4 separate regions of the Homo sapiens genome follow, and regions 2, 3 and 4 are each linked to region 1. Evidence: promoter capture Hi-C in human tissues and cell types (Jung and others, 2019). All regions are on one chromosome and are shown on one strand. Each heading gives the region's core, a stretch centred on a gene start or on the middle of the fragment in contact. The rest is flanking DNA. Distances are from core to core; before and after follow the strand shown.

Evidence for each region. The method cuts DNA at HindIII sites, captures the fragments that hold promoters and counts their contacts. A contact is called where the count stands out against the background at its distance.
Region 2: a fragment that was not itself captured here is called in contact with the fragment with the promoter of FAF2 in region 1 in 1 of the 25 tissues and cell types used here (lymphoblastoid cells).
Region 3: a fragment that was not itself captured here is called in contact with the fragment with the promoter of FAF2 in region 1 in 1 of the 25 tissues and cell types used here (hippocampus).
Region 4: a contact is called between the fragment with the promoter of NSD1 here and the fragment with the promoter of FAF2 in region 1, in 1 of the 25 tissues and cell types used here (hippocampus).

Annotation. Positions count from the first base shown.
Region 1 is chr5:176,447,058-176,449,757 of GRCh38, forward strand. It overlaps FAF2 (Fas associated factor family member 2), which reads left to right and starts at 1,328. Exons shown (of 11, transcript NM_014613.3): 1 at 1,328-1,413. The coding sequence starts at 1,351. RefSeq lists enhancers at 709-898, 979-1,038, 1,349-1,408 and a silencer at 1,219-1,268. The HindIII fragment of the contact is 18,873 bases long and covers 1-2,700 here.
Region 2 is chr5:176,982,197-176,984,896 of GRCh38, forward strand. It overlaps UIMC1 (ubiquitin interaction motif containing 1), which reads right to left. Exons shown (of 15, transcript NM_001199298.2): 2 at 273-427. The coding sequence starts at 419. LOC124901145 (a long non-coding RNA gene) reads right to left here and starts at 266. Exons shown (of 2, transcript XR_007059073.1): 1 at 1-266. RefSeq lists a silencer at 2,559-2,700. The HindIII fragment of the contact is 7,476 bases long and covers 1-2,700 here.
Region 3 is chr5:177,290,541-177,293,240 of GRCh38, forward strand. NSD1 (nuclear receptor binding SET domain protein 1) reads left to right here. Exons shown (of 23, transcript NM_022455.5): 22 at 1,414-1,618. Among named protein-coding and RNA genes, the nearest start is that of RAB24, 12 kb to the right of the region's middle. The HindIII fragment of the contact is 5,839 bases long and covers 1-2,700 here.
Region 4 is chr5:177,132,374-177,135,073 of GRCh38, forward strand. NSD1 (nuclear receptor binding SET domain protein 1) reads left to right here and starts at 1,400. Exons shown (of 23, transcript NM_022455.5): 1 at 1,400-1,579. RefSeq lists enhancers at 391-942, 435-729, 943-1,496, 1,497-2,048, 2,049-2,602 and silencers at 766-1,435, 1,516-1,675, 1,736-2,035. The HindIII fragment of the contact is 15,853 bases long and covers 1-2,700 here.

The DNA.
Region 1 (2,700 bases), core at 78-2,577:
GTCGTGGTTTGTGCAGACCTGGTAAGACCTGATAAGTCCTGAAAGAAGTAGCCAAAATTTCATGTACTCTTCACAGAACCAGCTCTCAAAGCCTTTTCTGTCTCACCGGATCAACCCTGCAAGGGGACGAGGGTGGGGCGCAGGCGGCCGAGAGCCTTGCTGAGAATCACACAGGTGGTCAGTGGAAAAGCGTGTACCAGACCCAGGCCTCTCTGGAAGGTGGGCAGAGGAGGCGTTCGGCGGGAGAGGTGGAAATGAAAACGGGAAATCTAAAGAGAGGTGGCGGACTAGAAGGGGCAAGGGACGTGCAGAGGAAGATAGAGATTGAGGGGTGGTGATAGGGTAGTGTAAGCAGCAGAAGGGAAGGGCAGGGGACTGCCTCGAGGAGAAGGGGCGGCGGCAGCACGTCAGGGGCTTTTGGGGAATCTCATTCAACAAATGGCAAAATGGAGCCCAAGTGGTTTGCCCAAGGATGTCCAGCAGTTGGCAAGGTGGCAACTAGAACCCGCGTCTCCTAATCCCGGTCCAGGGATCTTTCTTCGCCTGTCACAGAGACAAGGGGCCAGTGCAGCGCTAGTGCGGAGAGACAAGGCTCCAGGCACGGAAAAGCAGATGCCGGGCCGGGGTTCCAGCGCCGCAGTCACGGCGGTGGACGGCAAGCTGTGCGGACGACTGGGGGCGCCATGAATGGTCGAGGATCCGGGGAGCCGAGTCCAGATCTTCCTGCAAGTGACCCCGAAGCGGCAATGGAACGGTGGCCGAAGTCTGCCCACAGCTTCCGCTTCGAAGGCGGCGTCGGAAATGCCGCGCCAGTATCCAGAGCCCTTCGGAACCTCCCGAGAGATGGTCAGGAGCTTTTGGAAACTTTAGGTCAGGGGCCAGCGACCAAAAGGCTGGTATTTCGGAACGGCTGCGTCTCCCGAGAAACCTCCAAGAGTATCTGAGGTTGCCGGAAAATGGTTAGAGAGCAGCCGAAATCAGCCGAATGCCATTCGGGATGCTCCGGAGCTTCTCGAGGCACATTCGGGCCCTCTCGGCTCTGCAAGACTGCACTGGAATCTTAGGTCTCCTTTCGTCGCCTAATCTTAGCAGATCCTTTCGTCGCCTAAATGGTAAGAGCGACTTGTACCGACAGTCCCTCGGCAATTTCCGGAAGTGTTCGGGATAGGCCCGAGCGTGGCGCCCTCTGGCGGCGGCCAGAGGTGGCGGGGGGCGGGGGGAGGTTAGTGGGCCAGCGCGCGCAGACGCAGTTGCGCGCCGGCGGCCGTTCAGACCGGATGTGGTTGTGGCTGAGGTCAGTTCCGGCGGGTGACGGTGCGGACGGGTCAGGAGCGTAGAGGCGGCGGCAAAATGGCGGCGCCTGAGGAGCGGGATCTAACCCAGGAGCAGACAGAGAAGCTGCTGCAGTTTCAGGTAGCAGCGAGTACTCGGTGCAGCAGATGCCTCCGTGGGATGGGGAGTAGGCCCCTAGAGGAGTTCAGAACCCTCCTCAGATTGGGTTCAGATCCTTCTCAGACCAGCAGGCCGGCCCCCTCCCCCCCAGACTCCAACTGCCCTGATTCCCCCGGCCCCCAAGCCTCTGTTGGACCCTAGCCTTCCAGCCATCGCTGCGGGCAGACCCGCCTCGTCTGTGCCTCTGTGCCCTCAGCGTGTCAGCTTCCCTGGTTTGCCTTAGCGGCGTCAGTCCTCAGCCATCCTTCCCAGCCCGGTTATCGGTCGGACCCTCTCCGCCCAACGAGTCTATATCTGCCGGAGAAGCTTAGTCCCCACCGCGGAGTTGGCGTCATTTCGGGTCTCTGACAGGAAAACCTCCTGCCAGCATCCCATGCCATTTCCACATACACTCCCACAAACTGGGGCCTCTTGGATACCAGGTTTCGTGTTGGGGGTTCCGGTCGGGGAGGGGGCACCTACACACAGATCTGGTCCCCGCCCTAGAGGTGTGGGAGGACACCAAGTGAGGAAACAATGCAAGATGATAAGTGTCATCAGTGGTCTGTCGGGATTTATTACTTTTGGCTTATTCCTGGATTCCTGTGCTTAACTATGCTTGAGGAGGGTGGTAACTTGCAGAAATGTTATGTTAATACAAGATGTTGTATTAAGAACATTTGCCACTGATCACTTACCCCTGAGCTGGAGAATGGTTGGAGGATACCACTAGGGTGGGTAACCTTGGCACTTTGTTACCAGTTTCCTTATCTCTGAAAGGACTGTCTTAAAAATGTCTACCCCCAGGCCAGGAGCGGTGGCTCACGCCTGTAATCCCAGCACTTTGGGAGGCCAAGGCCAGCGAATCACGAGGTCAGGAGTTCGAGACCACTCTGGCCAATATGGTGAAACCCCGTCTCTACTAAAAATACAAATATTAGCCGGGCGTGGTGGTGCACGCCTGTGGTCCCAGCTACTCGGGAGGCTAAGGCAGGAGACTCGCTTGAACCCGGGAGGCGGAGGTTGCAGTGAGCCGAGATCGTGCCACTGCACTCCAGCCTGGGCAACAAGAGTGAAACTCCGTCTCAAAAAAAAAAAAATCTACCTCCTGAGGATGTTCGGGAGATCAAATGGACATATGGATGTTAGAAGGGCCTTGTAGACTGCAAAATGCCCCCAAATAGTATTTTCTGCTATTAATTTGACTTAGGATAGACCTAAAGTTATTGATACACTTATTTCCTTATATAAAATGTGTAAATATTCATT
Region 2 (2,700 bases), core at 42-2,541, 540 kb after region 1:
ATTGATTTAGATGATTCAAATAGTTCCAAAATGCCACTTTGGATTACTATATTATAAAACTGAAGAACTATGATCCATCCTCAACCAAGCAACAGGATTACTACCTTAAGTAATTCTTCATTCCATTTACAAATTAAAACAAAGCTGAGTAAAAATTTCATGGTTTTGGTGAGCTGGCATTAAGGTGAAGTCAGTCACGAAACAAACTCCCCATGGGTAAAGAAGCATAGTTTGAGAGCTACAGCTCTACTTTTCAGCTCTACTTCACTAACCTCTCCATCACTATCGGATATCACAATGAATGCATCCTCAAGTCTACGCTTCCTCTTCACACTGACAGAACTGGTAGTTTCCACATCCTTCTTCTCCAGGTTCCGAGATTCGGAGACTTCTTTAACTTTTTTCTTTCTCCGTGGCATCCTTTTGTCTAGAATAAAAGGACAATAATTTTGTCTAGAATAAAAAGATCATAATTTACTTAAAGTATAAGTTTTCTAGAAGCTATTCAACTTAGTCTTTTTTTGAGATGGTCTCGCTTTGTTGCCCAGGCTGGAGTGCAATGGCACGATCTTGGCTCACTGCAACCGCTGCCTCCCAGGTTCAAGCAATCCTCCTGCCTCAGCCTCCCGAGTAGCTGGGACCACAGGCACACGCCACCACACTGGCTAATTTTTGCATTTTTAGTACAGACAGAGTTTCACCATGTTGGCCAGGCTGGTCTCAAACTCCTCACTTCAGGTGATCCACCCGTGTCAGCCTCCCATAGTGCTGAGATTACAGACATGAGCCACCACATCCAGCCTAATTTTTGTATTTTTGTAGAGACTGGGTTTCACCATGTTGGCCAGGCTGGTATTGAACTCCTGACCTCAGGTCATCTGCCCGCCTTGGCCTCCCAAAGTGTTGGGGTTACAGGAGTGAGCCACCATGCCCAGCCTCAATTTAATCTTGTAAAAGAAAAAGATAACCCTATCTAACAGAAGCAAAACTGCATTTCTTAACTTGTCTACTACTCATTAAAAATATAGCCCTCTCCCTCTCCCCCTCCCCCTCCTCCTCTCCCTCCTTTCTTCAGTCTCCCTCTGTTGCTGATACTGCCACGATCTTGGCTCGCTGCAACCTCCCTGCCTCAGGCTCCCGTGATTCTCCTGCCTCGGCCTGCCAAGTGCCTGGGATTCCAGGCACGCACCGCCACTCCTGACTGGTTTTTGTATTTTTGGTGGAGACCGGGTTTCGCCATGTTGACCGGGCTGGTCTCCAGCTCCTGGCCTCGGGTGATCTGCCCGCCTCGGCCTCCCGAGGTGCTGGGATTGCAGACGGAGTCTCGCTCACTCAATGCTCAATGTTGCCCAGGCTGGAGTGCAGTGGCATGATCTCGGCTCGCTACAACCTCCACCTCCCAGCCGCCTGCCTTGGCCTCCCAAAGTGCTAAGATTACAGCCTCTGCCCGCCCGCCACCCCATCTAAGAAGTGAGCAGTGTCTCTGCCTGGCTGCCCATCGTCTAGGATGTGAGGAGCCCCTCTGCCCGGCCACCCCGTCTGGGAAGTCAGGAGCGCCTCTACCCGGCCGCCACCCCGTCTAGGAAGTGAGGAGCCCCTGCCTGGCCGCCCATCGTCTTGGATGTGAGGAGCGCCTCTGCCCGGCTGCCCCGTCTGGGAGGAAGTGAGGAGTGCCTCTGCCCGGCCGCCACCCCATCTGGGATGTGAGGAGCACCTCTGCCCGGCCACCCCATCTGGGAAGTGAGGAGTGCCTCTGCCCAGCCGCCCCGTCTGGGAGGAAGTGAGGAGCGCCTCTGCCCGGCCGCCCCGTCTGGGAAGTGAGGAGCGCCTCTGCCCGGCCGCCCCGTCTGGGAAGTGAGGAGTGCCTCTGCCCGGCCGCCCCGTCTGGGAAGTGAGGAGTGCCTCTGCCCGGCCGCCCTGTCTGGAAAGTGAGGAGTGCCTCTGCCCGGCCGCCCTGTCTGGGAAGTGAGGAGCGCCTCTGCCCGGCCGCCCCGAATGGGAAGTGAGGAGCGCCTCTGCCCGGCCGCCCCATCTGGAAAGTGAGGAGTGCCTCTGCCCGGCCGGCCCATCTGGGATGTGAGGAGCGCCTCTGCCGGCCGCCACCCCGTCTGGGAAATGGGGAGTGCCTCTGCCCGGCCGCCCCGTCTGGGAAGTGAGGAGTGCCTCTGCCCGGCCTCCCCGTCTGGGAAGTGAGGAGTGCCTCTGCCCGGCCGCCACCCCGTCTGGGAAGTGGGGAGCGCCTCTGCCCGGCTGCCTATCGTCTGGGATGTGAGGAGCGCCTCTGCCTGGCCGCCCCATCTAGGAGTGAGGAGTGCCTCTGCCTGGCCGCCCCATCTAGGAGTGAGGAGTGCCTCTGCCCGGCCGCCCCATCTGGGAGGTGTACCCAACAGCTCCGAAGAGACAGCGACCAACGAGAACAGGCCATGATGACGATGGCGGTTTTGTCAAAAAGAAAAGGGGGAAATGTGGGGAAAAGAAAGAGAGATCAGGTTGTTACTGTGCCTGTGTAGAAAGAAGTAGACATAGGAGACTCCATTTTGTTCTGTACTAAGAAAAATTCTTCTGCCTTGGGATGCTGTTAATCTATAACCTTACCCCCAACCCCGTGCTCTCTGAAACATGTGCTGTGTCAACTCAGGGTTAAATGGATTAAGGGCAGTGCAAGATGTGCTTTGTTAAAAAGATGCTTGAAGGCAGCAT
Region 3 (2,700 bases), core at 83-2,582, 840 kb after region 1:
GGGATTACAGGCCCCTGCCACCACACCTGGCTAATTTTTTGTATTTTTAGTGGAGATGGGGTTTCCCCATGTTGGCCAGGCTGGTCTCAAACTCCTGACCTCAGGTGATCCACCTGCCTCAGCCTCCCAAAGTGCTGGGATTACAGGCGTGAGCCACTGCGCCTGGCCAGAAATGAAGAGCACTCAATGATCATTTTTTAATCTTGTTAAATAAGGAGAATCACCTCTATATTATACTGGATTTTATTGTGCTTTTTGTTTAGTTTTGTTGGTTTAACGGTGTTGTTCCTTAAGATGTTGACTTGTTTCCTATAAATTAAAATAGTAACTCAGTTTAACCTGTACTTAATGGTATTAAGTGTAGTGCGGATGTCAGTTTCAGCATCCTTGATGTCTGCATGGGATAGCATTTCACAGGAGTCAGTCAGAGGTAGATGCTAGAGAGGTCACTGTGTGCTCTTAGTAGATACTGGTCTGTCAGAATAGGGTGGACCTCCATTAAGCCTTACAGATTGGTCCTGGATGTTTCTGGGTTAAAATGAAGAATGTGATAAGATGATTTGGTGACCAAGTGTGGGCTGCAGGGAACAAAGAGAGAACATCTGCTGGCTGCTCCAGGGTCTGCCTTGGGAGTGGTGGACCTGAAGCTAATTTGACTTGATGTGTAGTCTTATTGACGGCAGGGACCATGAATTAACTTTTTTGTGTCTTAACACATTGCTTATAGTAAGTTCAGTTATGCTTTGTTGAATGAACGAGAAATAGGCATGTGTACCCACACACAGAAGTCTAGTTTAGTTCTGAAAGTAGACGAATATAAAAGTGAAACTTTGGCCAGGTGCGGTGGCTCACGCCTGTAATCCTAGCACTTTAGGAGGCCAAAGCGGGTGGGTCACAAGGTCAGGAGTTCGAGACCAGCTTAACCAATATGCTGAAAACCCGTCTCTACTAAAAATACAAAAATTAGCCAGGAGTGGTGGTGGGCGCCTGTAATCCCAGCTACTCAGGAGGCTGAGGCAGGAGAATTGCTTGAACCCAGCAGGCGGAGGTTGCAGTGAGCCGAGATCGCGCCACTGCACTCCAGCCTGGGCAACACAGCAAGACTCCGTCTTGAAAAATAAATAAATTAATTAACTAATAAAACTTATGAAAGGCATGTCATTTAACACCAGCCTTATGGATCAGCAAAAACACAAAGATTTTTGTCTTCTGTTTTGTTCAGGTGGCAGGAGTAGTTGATACAAAAATTATTGCTACGTATCTGTGATGTACCAGGTACCTTTCCTGCATTTTATCTTCATGACAATCTCTTTTCCCAGAGAAGAGAATGAGGCTCAGAGAGGGTAGTTAACCCGGTTAAGATTGGTACTAATGTGTTCACAGAATGCTGACTGTTCAATATCTGACCTGTAGAATCAACCCATTGCCACGGAAGAAAAGTCAAAGAAATTCAAGAAGAAGCAACAGGGAAAGCGCAGGACCCAGGGTGAAATCACAAAGGAGCGAGAAGATGAGTGTTTTAGTTGTGGGGATGCTGGCCAGCTCGTCTCCTGCAAGAAACCAGGCTGCCCAAAAGTTTACCACGCAGACTGTCTCAATCTGACCAAGCGACCAGCAGGTTGGTGCCAAAATCCATTTGTACCGCTACTCGTTCTCTCCATCATACTCAGGGTCTCATGCCATTTGCATCAGCCTTGAAGAAAGTGCCATTTGGTCTTTCCATGCATAATTTTGAGGGGTATGGTCTATTTTCTTATTTTGGAAATAATGAAAGCAAAGGCTTAGAATTCTTAGTTATGAAGAATGGGACAGCGGTGCACTTGCTGTGTTTCAGGTCCTTTACTTACAGTCATGTTTATTTCATTCCCCCAGCAGCCCATAATGGTTGGTTTTCTTCCATAATGCATGTGAAGAAACAGAGTGAGGATTGGGGAGGTGATCTTTCACACATAGATAGAGGAGCTGGATTGAGAGCTGGGTTTTTGACTCCAAGACTATTAAATCATGTTGCCTTTCTAGAGAAAGAAAGATTGAGATAGTAAAGCCTTTAGGTGGTTCTAGTCAGTGAGAGATGGATTGCCACCCTTTTAGCACTTCCTACCTTGCTCCCCTACGCCTAGTGCAGTCTCCCCCCATGCAGAGTAGACTTTTTTCCTCTAAAGGAGATTTGGTTGTATCAGTTAATACATGAGAAAGCTGCTCAGGTGGATGTGGTACCCAGGAAATTTGTAGTTGAAGAAATTGAGAACCTTTGAGTAGTGATTTGGGGTTAGAGAATTTTAGGGATTTGGATATGCCATCTATTTTAATGAACAAAAAAGAGAAACCAGTAGGGAGCCATTCCAGGGTGAGGAGATTATACATTACTAGTGACCTGCTTCCAAGAGTTGCAGAACGTTAAGAACTTTAGGGTATAAGTAAAAGGAATTTGTCCCCAAATTGGCTTTCCTTCACTGTATATTGGCCAGGGTCATGAAATAAAAGAAACTGAGGTAGGATGAGGGCAAGGCCATCACATTGACCTGTCAGCACCAGGAAGTAGAATTGTTTCAGAATCAACTGCTCAGGGTCGTCACTGGCGCAGGCTATGATAGAACCAATCTTGCCTGTGTGCCAGGAGTGGGAGCTGGTGTAGTTGATTTGAAGGTGGAAACACTGTCCCTGGTCAAGACCCTCAGGTTTCATGAAATGTGGGGAGGC
Region 4 (2,700 bases), core at 150-2,649, 690 kb after region 1:
AGCCCGGCGCGCACGCACATACCCACGCCGGCCGGCGCCCGCTGCCCGAGCCCCCGTGCCAGGCCCAGACCTTGACTAGGCGCGGGAGGCGGTGCAGGGACTAGAGGACCCCCTCCCCCGGCGTTCCCCTCGCCCCGCCCGAGGCTGCGAGGACCCCTGGGCTCGGGGGTGGTGAGGGAGCTTCGTCCCGGCTGGGCCCGGGCTGGGGACTCGGCCTCCCTGGGCGGGGGCCGCACGGCTGCAGGCCGAGGTGCGGACGCGCTGTCAGGCTGCAGCCCGGCTCGGTGCCGGGGGTGGGCTCAGCGCTGGGGTCGCCTGGCTTCGTTCCCCCGCGGAGGCCACGGCCGGGCGAGCAGTGCCGGGGCGGGTAACCCGACCCGGCTCCCCAGAGCCGCTCACCCCGCACGGCCCGGCAAGGGGAGGGAGAGGGATGGGGGGAGGGGGAAGGGAAGGGGTGGTGGGTGAGGGGCTGTGGGCACCGCAGGGCCGAGTCCCCGGCCCGTCTGCGCTGCTGTAGGGCGGCTGCCCGCGGCACCCGGGACGATCCAGCCTCTGCCTCGCGGGCGTCGAGCCTGAGACAGGAGGGAGCCCTGGGGCTGCACAGGCTTGGCTCAGGGAGGCAGACCCGAGCTGCTGCCTCCATTTTGTTTCCTGCTCAGCTTGGTCTGTGGTGGTGGTGGTGGTGGTGGTGTGGGTTTGGGGTGCGGCCGGGTAGGGGGTTCGCCTGCGGCCGCGTCTGCTCGGGGCCTGAGGCCTCGAAGACCCCAGCCCAAGCCCCCAGGTGAGCCCTGCGGCAGGAGGGGGGTTGCCTTGGCCTCGGGCCGAACCCAGCGGGCTGAGGGCAGGTGCCCAGTGGATGGGGAGCCTGGGCTGTAACCTAAGATGGAGGCCGGGACTGACGCGGGCCCGAGCAGGGCTGGCGGGACGATCGGACAGGCCTCAGCCGCGCCAGGTGCCGCCTGGGTTGGGGTTCGAGACGCGTAGGGTGCGGGAGCCGTGTGCGGCCCGAGGCCAGCGCCGTGCCCCGAGGTAGGTGAGGGGATCGGAATGCCACCCACGACGCCCGCAGGCCCCGACACTCCAAGGAGGCGCGCGAGGCCCCTGGGGAGCCCGCCTCAGGCCCCGCCCGGGCAGCCGGGCCGGCCCGTAGGCCCCGGCCGCGAGCGGGCGCGCAGGGGGAGGGGAGGGGGCGGCAGCGGCAGCTCCGCTGATTGGGCGGCGCTCTCACAAGCCCGACTTCACCCGCCCTGAACCCCGAAGAGTGAGAGAAGGGAACGCGCGCGCTCGGTGGGGGAAGGGGTGCGCGCGCACTCGGGGCCCAGCCGCACGCGGGCCGGCGCGAGGCGCTCGGTCGCACGCGCGGCCGCGGGGGCGCGCGCGGTGGGGGTGTGAGGAGGAGGAGGCGGCGGCGGAATAGGCCGGGGCAGGTCGCGCTCGCTGCCTTCTCCCCTGAAGAGAGACGCGGGGGGAGGGGGGTGCGGCGAGCGGCCCCGCTCTCTCCCCACCGCTCCGCTCGCACCCCAGTGTAATGAGGGTCACCCCCTCCCCCCAGCTGGCCCGGGAGGGGGCGCGGGGCACGGTAACTAGTGCGCTGGGGTGGGCGGCGGGCAGGCGCGAGGAGAAGGGAGGGAGGAGGGTGGCCGGGCGGGGAAGATGGTGGTGGCCGTAAGGTGAGGGGCTCGGGGGAGGGCCAGGCGCGATGCGGGGTTGGTGGCCGGCGGCGCTGCAGCCGCCGGCCTCCTCCCCCTCCCCCTCCTCCATCACTACCAGCCGGGCTCAGGCCTAGCTGGCCGGGCTGCCGCGAACTTCCTCCCGGCGCGGCCCGTGCCCCGCCGGCCGCCTGCGAACACCTCGGCCTCCGCCTCCCCTCAGGTAGCAGGCTGCGGGGCGCGGGGCCGGCTGCCCTCCCGCAGCAAACTTTGCTTGCTGCTGAATATTGATGAGAGCGATCGGCTCGGCTGGGAGGTGCTGCCGCGGCTGCGGGAAGGAGCGCGGCCCGGGCAGGCGGCGGCGGCGTCGGCAGCAGCCATGTTTTTCGAGCTGTAGCAGCTGCTGCTACCCTGACTGGGCTTCGCTGGCCGCCTCGGTTTCTCCCTCTGCCGGGTCCAGGCCTCTTCGCCCTGCAGCTGCGGATCCAGCAGGCCTGCATTCAGGAAGGCGAGCTCTGGGGTGCAGCCGCCTCGGCCGGCTCGCCTGCGGCCTGCGCACCGCCGCTGCAAAGGCTCCGGCGCTGGCTGGGCGCAGGGTGCAGCGCTATTGTGACCGCTGCGCCCTAGCGAGCCAGGAAGGGGGGGGTACCTTTTTGTGCAGGGTCCAGGAGCCCCCCTCGGACCCCGCAGCCTTTTGCTTTTGAGAGATCCAGCTGCTCGACCCCTGGCGAGGGAGGGGGAGGACTAGTCCTGTTTGAGAATTGGGAATTTTGACGGGCAGAGGGGTTTTAATTTTAGTTCATCCCAAGTGTCCACCAGTCTACAGAGGAGGAAAAAGAGACGGGCTGTTTCTATGTAGCAGGATCGGCCCAGCTTCGGGAAAATGGAGTTTTCAGAGGCTCATCGAGGCCATTTTTTCATCTCCAGTCGGGGGAACTTTTTCTGCCCATGGAAGTGCAGCAGAAAGGCATAGAGGCCACTAGGCCTTGAAGTGGCTGCCATTTTAAAGAGTCGAGTCAGATGGCCTATTAACTCAGATTAATTGCTGTGC